3 separate regions of the Homo sapiens genome follow, and regions 2 and 3 are each linked to region 1. Evidence: promoter capture Hi-C in human tissues and cell types (Jung and others, 2019). All regions are on one chromosome and are shown on one strand. Each heading gives the region's core, a stretch centred on a gene start or on the middle of the fragment in contact. The rest is flanking DNA. Distances are from core to core; before and after follow the strand shown.

Region 1 (2,820 bases), core at 178-2,677:
GTGAAAGATTGCTTTGTGAGGGAAGGAAGGTGAGGCAACCAGAGACTTTCATTATCTCTTAAATATCTATCCAGTAGAAGTGTTTCCTTTTTGGTATCCTATAAACTACATTAACCTTAGAAAATCTTCTGAGCATTAGTGAACAAAGAACATCAAAAAATAAACTGTTTTTTTTAAAAAAAACAGGATGGCCCAAAAAACAAACAAAAAATTAGGATGAACATATAAACATTTGTCAGTTTATTTTTACATTGGAGTGGAAGAGAAATTTGAAAATATAAACATATTTTTGGATTCTGTACTTCCAGCTCCAGGAACTCAAAGTGTGAAATGATAATGCCCAGTGATGCAAAAAAAAAGTTCAGGTTGATATTCAGCAGAACGGAGGGAAAAAATGGATGACTAATGAGAATCTTTGAGTCTTCGGACATGGAAAAACTAGATGAACTAAAAATAAAAATAGACAACATTAATGGAGCATTAATTTGTGCCAGGCACTTTTCTAAATGTTCTTCGAATGCACAATCACATTTATGCCCTACCTACAAGGTAGGTACAATTATTAGTCTTATACAGATAAGGAAAATGAGCAGTTAAGTCATTTGCCAAAGTCATCCAGCTACTAATTGTGGACAGGGAACCAAGCTGTCAGGCCCCAGAGCCCAAGTTCCCATCTACTACACTGTAAGAAAGAGATCTAACATGGTCACTTTCTTGGAGAGTGGGAAGCAAACCTGGGATACAAATTCACTGAATGGATCACCCACTCATTGAATGGATCTTTAACAGGCAGATCACATCTGCCTGTTACACAGCTATTTAGGCCCCTTGCGGCCTCCAAGCTCATTTATAGAAGTAAATTAGCTGTGCTTTATTACGCAAATACTTCACAATGACTGGGTCTCAGGCAGGAAGAATTTATATATTTTGGAGGGTCAGAGGCCTAGGCCCTTCCTTCCAGGTTCTCACTTTTTTTAATGAGAGAGAAAAAAGCCAAACAAGGTTACAGAAACTAATGGTATAGTAAAGATGTACATGAAACAAATGAGCGCTTTCAATACATCCATGACAATACATTCGGTACAATACATAACAGTGTGTTTGAAACTTCACTTGGAGGTAACCACGTAGGTCCAAGCCTAACTCCCTACAACTCTGAGGCCTGGCCACTGGCTTCCTAGCATCCTTGGACAGGCCCCGGTGAAAACCCAGACACCTTGACTTAAACACTGGTTTAGTTTGTAGTCTGGTAAGGCGGCGGGGCACTCACCAGAGGCCTCTGCCCTGGGGCTGTCCTCCGGACTATAGATGACGCCCGTGGGAAAAGCAGTCGGAGCAGAAGCACCCTCGGAACCAAAGCGCCCGCCCCGCCTACTCCTCGGCAGCGTTTCCTGGAGGACCAGGGGGCGGGGCCTGCCCGGCTGGCCTGGACGAACGGGAAGCCGGGAGCTCGGCCACGGGTGGCGAGGCTGCGGTGAGGCCTGGTCTCCGGCTGCCAGACCATGCTGAGTGGAGCACGCTGCAGGCTCGCCTCAGCGCTGCGGGGAACGCGCGCGCCGCCGTCCGCGGTCGCCCGTAGGTGCCTGCACGCGTCGGGGTCGCGGCCTTTGGCCGACCGGGGCAAGAAGACTGAGGAGCCGCCCCGCGACTTCGATCCGGCGCTGCTGGAGTTCCTGGTGTGCCCGCTCTCCAAGAAGCCGCTCAGGTAACTCGCTGGCCTTGGCCCTTCCTTTGCAGCCTCCCGGTGGGCGGAAAGGGAGCGGTGGACCGCGGCCTCTTGCAGCCACTGGGGCCTTGTAGGTCGGTCAGGTACTCTCCGCTGCCACATTCTGGACTCTGTCCTCGCCGGGCGCACAGCGGGCAGGACGGGGGAGACCGGAGGCCAGGGGAGCTGCGTCCCACATCTCCCAGAACGCAACGCCAGCCTGCGGGAATGGCTCGAAGCGTTTTAGGGTTCGCGACCGGCTGCGCATTGCAATCACCCGGGGACCGTTTTAAAAATGCCGATTCCCCGACAGCCCCCAAGACGGGCAGACTTGGAATGCTCGCGGGATGGGACCTGAACATTTGTATTTTCTTTTCCTTTTTTTTTTTCCTTTTAAGAGACAGGGTGCCCCCTACGTTGCCCAGACTGGCCTAGAACTCCCGCCTCAGCCTCCTCAGGAGTCGAGAGACAGGCGCCGCCCCCACGCCCAGCTTATCTGTGTTCTTAAACGGTCCCTAAATGATTTCTAATGTACCACCAGGTTTATGAACCACTGCGATTCAGGACAAGTCCGAAGCCTTCCGGTTTTTAAGCCAAGATAATGAAAAGTATTGTTGTACCCTCCAGATTCTTGTGAAAGTGTCTTGTACAACTGGTGCCTGACAATCTTAAGCAATTCAGCTGTGTTTGCTGCCCAGTGGCTCTTAGTTGTGGCCTAGCAGGTTTCGTAGAAGCCTCTTTAACTAGTTTTTGGGAAGACAGCTCTACAGTTTCCAAGCTACCAAAATTGAATATTGACAACACTAACGCTAGTATTACAAATCGCATAAACACCAAAATGTTATCAGTGGTTATCTTTGAATGGTAGATTGCTAGCAATTTTTCGTATTTCTTTTTCCCGTAATAAACATATTATTCAATTTTCTCGAACCTTGAAATTATCATTTGATTTACGTTTATAACTAGCTCACTGCAGACTTAGTGCTTTCGAAAGTTTCTTCATTTCTGCCCTCTCACCTTTTCCAGTGATTTCCTTCTAATGGATTAGTTAAGTTTCTCTACTTAGCATTTATTCTAAAATGAAGAAGTTGATTTTTCTCTAGTGTTTATTCCAG
Region 2 (2,820 bases), core at 93-2,592, 370 kb before region 1:
ATGTATCCTAATGTACCATCTTTCCTCTCTCAAATTAACACTATTGAAAAATTAAATTAGGCCATGTGTGGTGGCTCATGCCTGTAATTCCAGCACTATAGGAGGCTGAGGTGGGTGGATCACGTGAGGCCAGGAGTTCTAGACCAGCCTGGCCAACTTGGCAAAACCCTGTCTCTACTCAAAATACAAAAATTAGCCGGCCATGGTGGCGCATGCCTGTAATCTCAGCTACTCAGGAGGTTGAGGCACAAGAATTGCTTGAACCTGGGAGGCTGAGGTTGCAGTGAGCCAAGATTGCCACTGCACTCCAGCCTGAGTGACAGAGTGAGACTCTGTATCAAAAAATAAAAATAAAATTAATACTTATCATTTCCATGCATGTTATTATAGGAACACTGCATATCTATATATATACTTATACATAATATATGCTATAGTCTTTGCATGTTTTAAAACATTATATAAAAATAGTACATAGTGTGTTGCCTTCTGTGGCTTCATTTTTTTTCTGTTCAATATGCTGTCAATATTAACTTTCAGTAAGAATATGGTTGTTATTCTAATTTTTCCCCAATACTTAGATTGTCTCCAATATTTAAGTCACTTCCAATAGTTTGCTATTACAAATATTTTTAAGTGAATAATTTTCATGTGACTCATTCTATGCACATGGAAATATTAGATCGTAAGCATGTGCATCTTTAACTTGTCAGGACATTTCAAATGCTCTTAGGATGTTGCATCAATTTACATGCTAACATCTGTATATGACTGCTTCCATTTTTCACATCCTCACCAGTCCTTGGTAATAGGAGTTTTTGTTGTTACTGCTTTTTCTCAACCTAATGGTTATAAGATGCATCTTGCTATTGCCTTAATTTGGATTGCACTAATTTCTAGTTGTGCCAGAGACACTGAATATCCATGTGTTTCCCAGCCCCTTTGCAGTTAGGTCGGGCCAGTCAACTACTTTGGGTCAATATAGTGTTACTTCAGGAGAGAATCCAAAAGCTTGTGCGTAACTCTTGAACTGTTTCTTTTTTTTTTTTTTTTTGAGACGGAGTCTCGCTCCATCAGCCTGGCTGGAGTGCAGTGGCGCGATCTCGGCTCACTGCAGCTCCGCCTCCCGGGTTCACGCCATTCTCCTGCCTCACCCTCCCGAGTAGCTAGCTGTAGGTGGGACTACAGGCGCCCGCCACCACGCCCGGCTTATTTATTTATTTATTTATTTATTTATTCATTCATTCATTCATTCATTGAGACAGAGTCTGGCTCTGTCGCCCAGGCTGGAGTGCAGTGGCACAATCTCGGCTCACTGCAAGCTCCGCCTCCTGGGTTCACGCCATTCTCCTGTCTCAACCTCCTGAGTAGCTGGGACTACAGGCGCCCGCCACCACGCCCAGCTAATTTTTTGTATTTTTAGTAAGACGGGGTTTCACCGTGTTAGCCAAGATGGTCTCAATCTCATGACCTCGTGATCCGCCCGCCTTGGCCTCCCAAAGTGCTGGGATTAAAGGCGTGAGCCACTGCACCCAGCCTGAACTGTTTCTTATTGTACGGCAGCTGCACAGTGGAGCATGGACCTTTTCGTTTCTTTGTGGAGCAGAGCCCCCTGTCAACCTGTTTTGGATCTGTGTCATGACCAAAAAATAAACCTCTGTTTTGTGAAGCTACTGAGATTTGGGGTTTAATTTGTAAACTCATCATAATCAAGTCTATCCTGATTAATACAAATGGGCAGTTTTTCATATGTTTATGTTGTCATATGTTTATTAAGCTTTGATCATATCTGTGATGATTAATTTGTGTGCTGCTTTCTTCTATCACTGATAGTTTTACTATTGGATTATCACTTTTTTAATGATTTGTAAGAGTTTGTTTGTTAGCTGTTATCAGTTGTATGTATTCAAAGTACCTTTTCTCAGTTTTTTGGTTTTCTTTTCATATTGAATATAGTACCTTTTAATGTATAAAAGATTTTTTTAATATGATCAAATAAATCAATATTGTATCAACTAAAAATAATGTAATATCAGCAAAAAATAATGAGCATTGTTTATTCTTTTTCAAGCCTTTTATCATTTGACTTGTTTTCTTTTTTTCTTTCTTTTGGTTTTGTCCTACTGTGTTGGTAGTGCTTTCAGTACAAGGTTAGGTAAAAGCGGTGATAGCATGCCTCCTTGACTTACTCCCAGATTTTAAGGGAAAATTTCTACATCTGACTTTTAAGTATGATCTTGGCACTTAAAAAAATAATTATTTTAGAATGCCAGACACATAGTGGACCCTTAATAAAGACTTGAAAGTGAACAAATAAATTATTCAACTGCTACTTTTATTTTGTATGAAAGTAGTTGGCGTCAGTATTTTTGTTGTTGTTGTTTCTTTCTTTTAGAAGACAGGGCCAGGTGCAGTGGCTCACGCCTGTAATCCCAGCACTTTGGGAGGCCGAGGCGGGCAGGTCACGAGGTCAGGAGATCGAGACCATCCTGGCTAACATGGTGAAACCCCATCTCTACTAAAAATACAAAAAATTAGCCAGGCGTGGTGGCGGGCGCCTGTAGTCCCAGCTACTCGGGAGGCTGAGGCAGTAGAATGGTGTGAACCCGGGAGGTGGAGCTTGCAGTGAGCCGAGATCTCGCCACTGCACTCCAGCCTGGGTGACAGAGCCAGACTCCGTCTCAAAAAAAAAAAAAAAAAAAAAAAAGACAGGATCTTGCTCTGTCTGGCCCAGGCTGGAGTGCAGCAGCTCAATCTTAGCTCACTGAAACCTCAGCCTCCTGAGTTTAAATGATCTGCCTGCCTCAGACTCCCGAATAG
Region 3 (2,820 bases), core at 199-2,698, 260 kb before region 1:
ACTATGAGTCGATTATAAAACTGCATTTGAAAAATCTGAAATTAGTTAAGTTCTCAAAACACAGTTTATTTAAGTAAATGCTACTTCTCAGCCTGAGCATTTAGAACATATATATATAGTTCTTTTTCAAGCGAAGAAAAACAAGGTTTGAGGACTCTGAGTTAAGAGCTTTCCATACCAGCTTATTTGGAAATAATGTGGTGCTAAAAGGTATACACACCTTGAAAGATTCTACAGCTTTAAAAATGATTCCATTTCTAGCTTACCATGCACTTTTCAGCACTTTGTGCTTATGTGTTTTCCTCATGTTGAACAAAGTAAATCTATCCTTCCAATTTCAGTAATATGTTCTGGGGTGTTTGCATGAATACAGCTTTAATTATAAACATCACAATTTAATTGAATAGAGGTTAGGAAAGATTATGCCATGCTGTTGTGAGTTCTAATTGTTCTGGTGAGTTTTTTCCCAAAATATCATTATTTTCATATAATTTTGTCTTAGATTGTAAATAGATAATAGGCATCATAAAATTATTTGTGCCAGTTTGCTTTGCAAATCACTCTCTCTTCCTCTGTAGAATTGGTATGAAATTGCCTTTGTAAGAATAGGTCTACTATTATTCTATGAGGGCAAAAAAAATCTTTCCTCATTCTTCCTTATATTGATTGACCCCTGTTTCCTGAATGCCTCATAATTGTTGCTAGACTTGCCATGAGCATTTCAGCAATACTGGCTTCACAAAGATGAGAAAGTTGTTAAATTGGCAGAATTGTTTTCGTTTAGTTTTGGTTTTAACACATAATGCAGATATTTTTTAGATTAATGCCTCATCATCTCTCTTTGCTTATGAAGTTCTAAAGACTTTCCACTGGAAATACAGATGTTCCCAAAACTGTAGGCACAGATTTTTTAAGGTGATCACTGATGAACTTGACTGCTTGAATGACTCTGCATTCTTTTTTGCCAGACTCTTAGAAAGAACCATCCGATCAGCTGTAGAACAACATCTTTTTGATGTTAATAACTCTGGAGGTCAAAGTTCAGAGGACTCAGAATCTGGAACACTATCAGCATCTTCTGCCACATCTGCCAGACAGCGCCGCCGCCAGTCCAAGGAGCAGGATGAAGTTCGACATGGGAGAGACAAGTGAGTTGGCATTGATTCTTCCTCTTACTTGAGTTTTCTCTTTTTAAAAGAAATATACACCCAAATTAGTCGCTGTGTTATAGTCATACCTCCTGGTCCTCTCCCATTTCAGTATTTAGGTTAAAACTTTAAGAGTTATCAGTTTGTCCATTCTAAACTTAGCTACATTTGGAAATTCATAGGTAATTGCATAAATATTTCCGTTTCATCCAGACATTTGGTATGTTGTTAGAAGCCACCTCTGATTGAATACACCCTATGGCTTCCTCATAAATATCTTATTTAGAGGGATTCTGAACCATGGGCAGAGAAAGTTACCATATGCTTGTCCAGAGGTATTTTTTTTCTTGCTAGACAACATTAAGTTGACTATTTAGACTTGTTTATGGAGCAGCTGATTTCTCCATTATATTTATGTGATTAAATAGTCAGATATCCCTATAATACTCTGACATTTGATTATGTTTTAGTATAAGAAAGGTTGGGCTTAAATCTACTCAAAAAATGAAAAGCTTAAGTTGTTTATTATAATAATCACTAATTTTAAGGCATTCCCATAGTATGAATTTTAAGAATAGTGTTACAAAGAGCTTTATTCTCCATGAAAAGATTTAATAAAATACAGATGAACAATTACCATTTATATTATTTAATAATCATGACTTAAATTGTCAAGGAAAATAAATTTATATAGAGAATAGACTATACAGATATTCATATATTTTCCCTGAAAGTTCCAAGGTTATTTTTATTGACTATGGCCTTTAGCCTCTTTATGGTTTAATAATGACTCCTTATTAAATGTCAGAAACTAACCTGAACCAGACCCTAGCACCCCTCATTCTTTTTCTTTCTTTTCTTAATTTTTAATCTTTATGAATATATAATAGTCCCACACCCCTCATTCGCATTCTTTTTCACTTTGACTCATAATCTACATTAAACCCTTTATGGAAAAAGAAAAAAAACTTTTTTTCGCTTAAAGAAAAACATAAAAGATAAACAGTATAAATAAGTTTCATGCTATACCTCACCGAGATGTTTAAGAGCTATATTAGCAAATGTAATTTTAGAAATAAAGCAGTATCAATAATATAACCCACTGATTTACAAGTAGCATGTGCAGTACTTTTAAAATAAATTTTCATGGAGCTGGTGGATAGAATAGTTGTAATATTCCATTTAGAAAATAGAAAAAGTATAATATAGGAGATATTTACATTTCTTCTCCTGTGGCATGACATGAGATATTTACATTTAAAATTAGCTACTGACATGTTTATAGAAAGTGTTTAGAAGTATAATTAGTTTGTGTACTACCTCTAATGTGTTATAGAGAAAGCACAAATTATTCATTTAACACTGTTCTTATCCTCTGCCTCATTTTTTGCTGAGGAGTATGTAGCAACATTTTGCATTTTAAAAATATCCTCAGTGTGTCACGATATCCTGCTTTCCACCCTCTTTGTTTGGACAGAGGGCTAGCAGGTGGAGGTGGGAAGTGGTGGGGAGCATGAGAGAGAACAGAGAGTGATGGTGCTGTTGGTGGATGCTTGGCAGCAGGTCTGGGGGAGGACAGTGGAGGTAGAAACAGATAGGGGCCAGACAGGGCAGGGAAATGTGAAACACAGCCTCACCTCTCCTGAAGAATTTAAATAGAGAGCTTCCCAAG

The links. The method cuts DNA at HindIII sites, captures the fragments that hold promoters and counts their contacts. A contact is called where the count stands out against the background at its distance.
Region 2: a fragment that was not itself captured here is called in contact with the fragment with the promoter of PIGY in region 1 in 2 of the 25 tissues and cell types used here (IMR-90 fibroblasts and aorta).
Region 3: a fragment that was not itself captured here is called in contact with the fragment with the promoter of PIGY in region 1 in 2 of the 25 tissues and cell types used here (mesenchymal stem cells and mesendoderm cells).

Annotation. Positions count from the first base shown.
Region 1 is chr4:88,522,383-88,525,202 of GRCh38, reverse strand. PIGY (phosphatidylinositol glycan anchor biosynthesis class Y) reads left to right here and starts at 1,427. Exons shown (of 2, transcript NM_001042616.3): 1 at 1,427-1,705. PYURF (PIGY upstream open reading frame) reads left to right here and starts at 1,427. Exons shown (of 2, transcript NM_032906.5): 1 at 1,427-1,705. The coding sequence starts at 1,503. It overlaps PIGY-DT (PIGY divergent transcript), which reads right to left and starts at 1,393. Exons shown (of 2, transcript NR_134663.1): 1 at 1,271-1,393; 2 at 212-438. It also overlaps a transcript of HERC3 not described here. RefSeq lists an enhancer at 2,070-2,129. The HindIII fragment of the contact is 23,527 bases long and covers 1-2,820 here.
Region 2 is chr4:88,892,061-88,894,880 of GRCh38, reverse strand. The region is part of intron 6 of FAM13A (family with sequence similarity 13 member A); the gene reads left to right. Among named protein-coding and RNA genes, the nearest start is that of FAM13A, 160 kb to the left of the region's middle. The HindIII fragment of the contact is 3,437 bases long and covers 1-2,820 here.
Region 3 is chr4:88,786,081-88,788,900 of GRCh38, reverse strand. It overlaps FAM13A (family with sequence similarity 13 member A), which reads left to right. Exons shown (of 24, transcript NM_014883.4): 10 at 969-1,148. Among named protein-coding and RNA genes, the nearest start is that of FAM13A-AS1, 78 kb to the right of the region's middle. The HindIII fragment of the contact is 8,280 bases long and covers 1-2,820 here.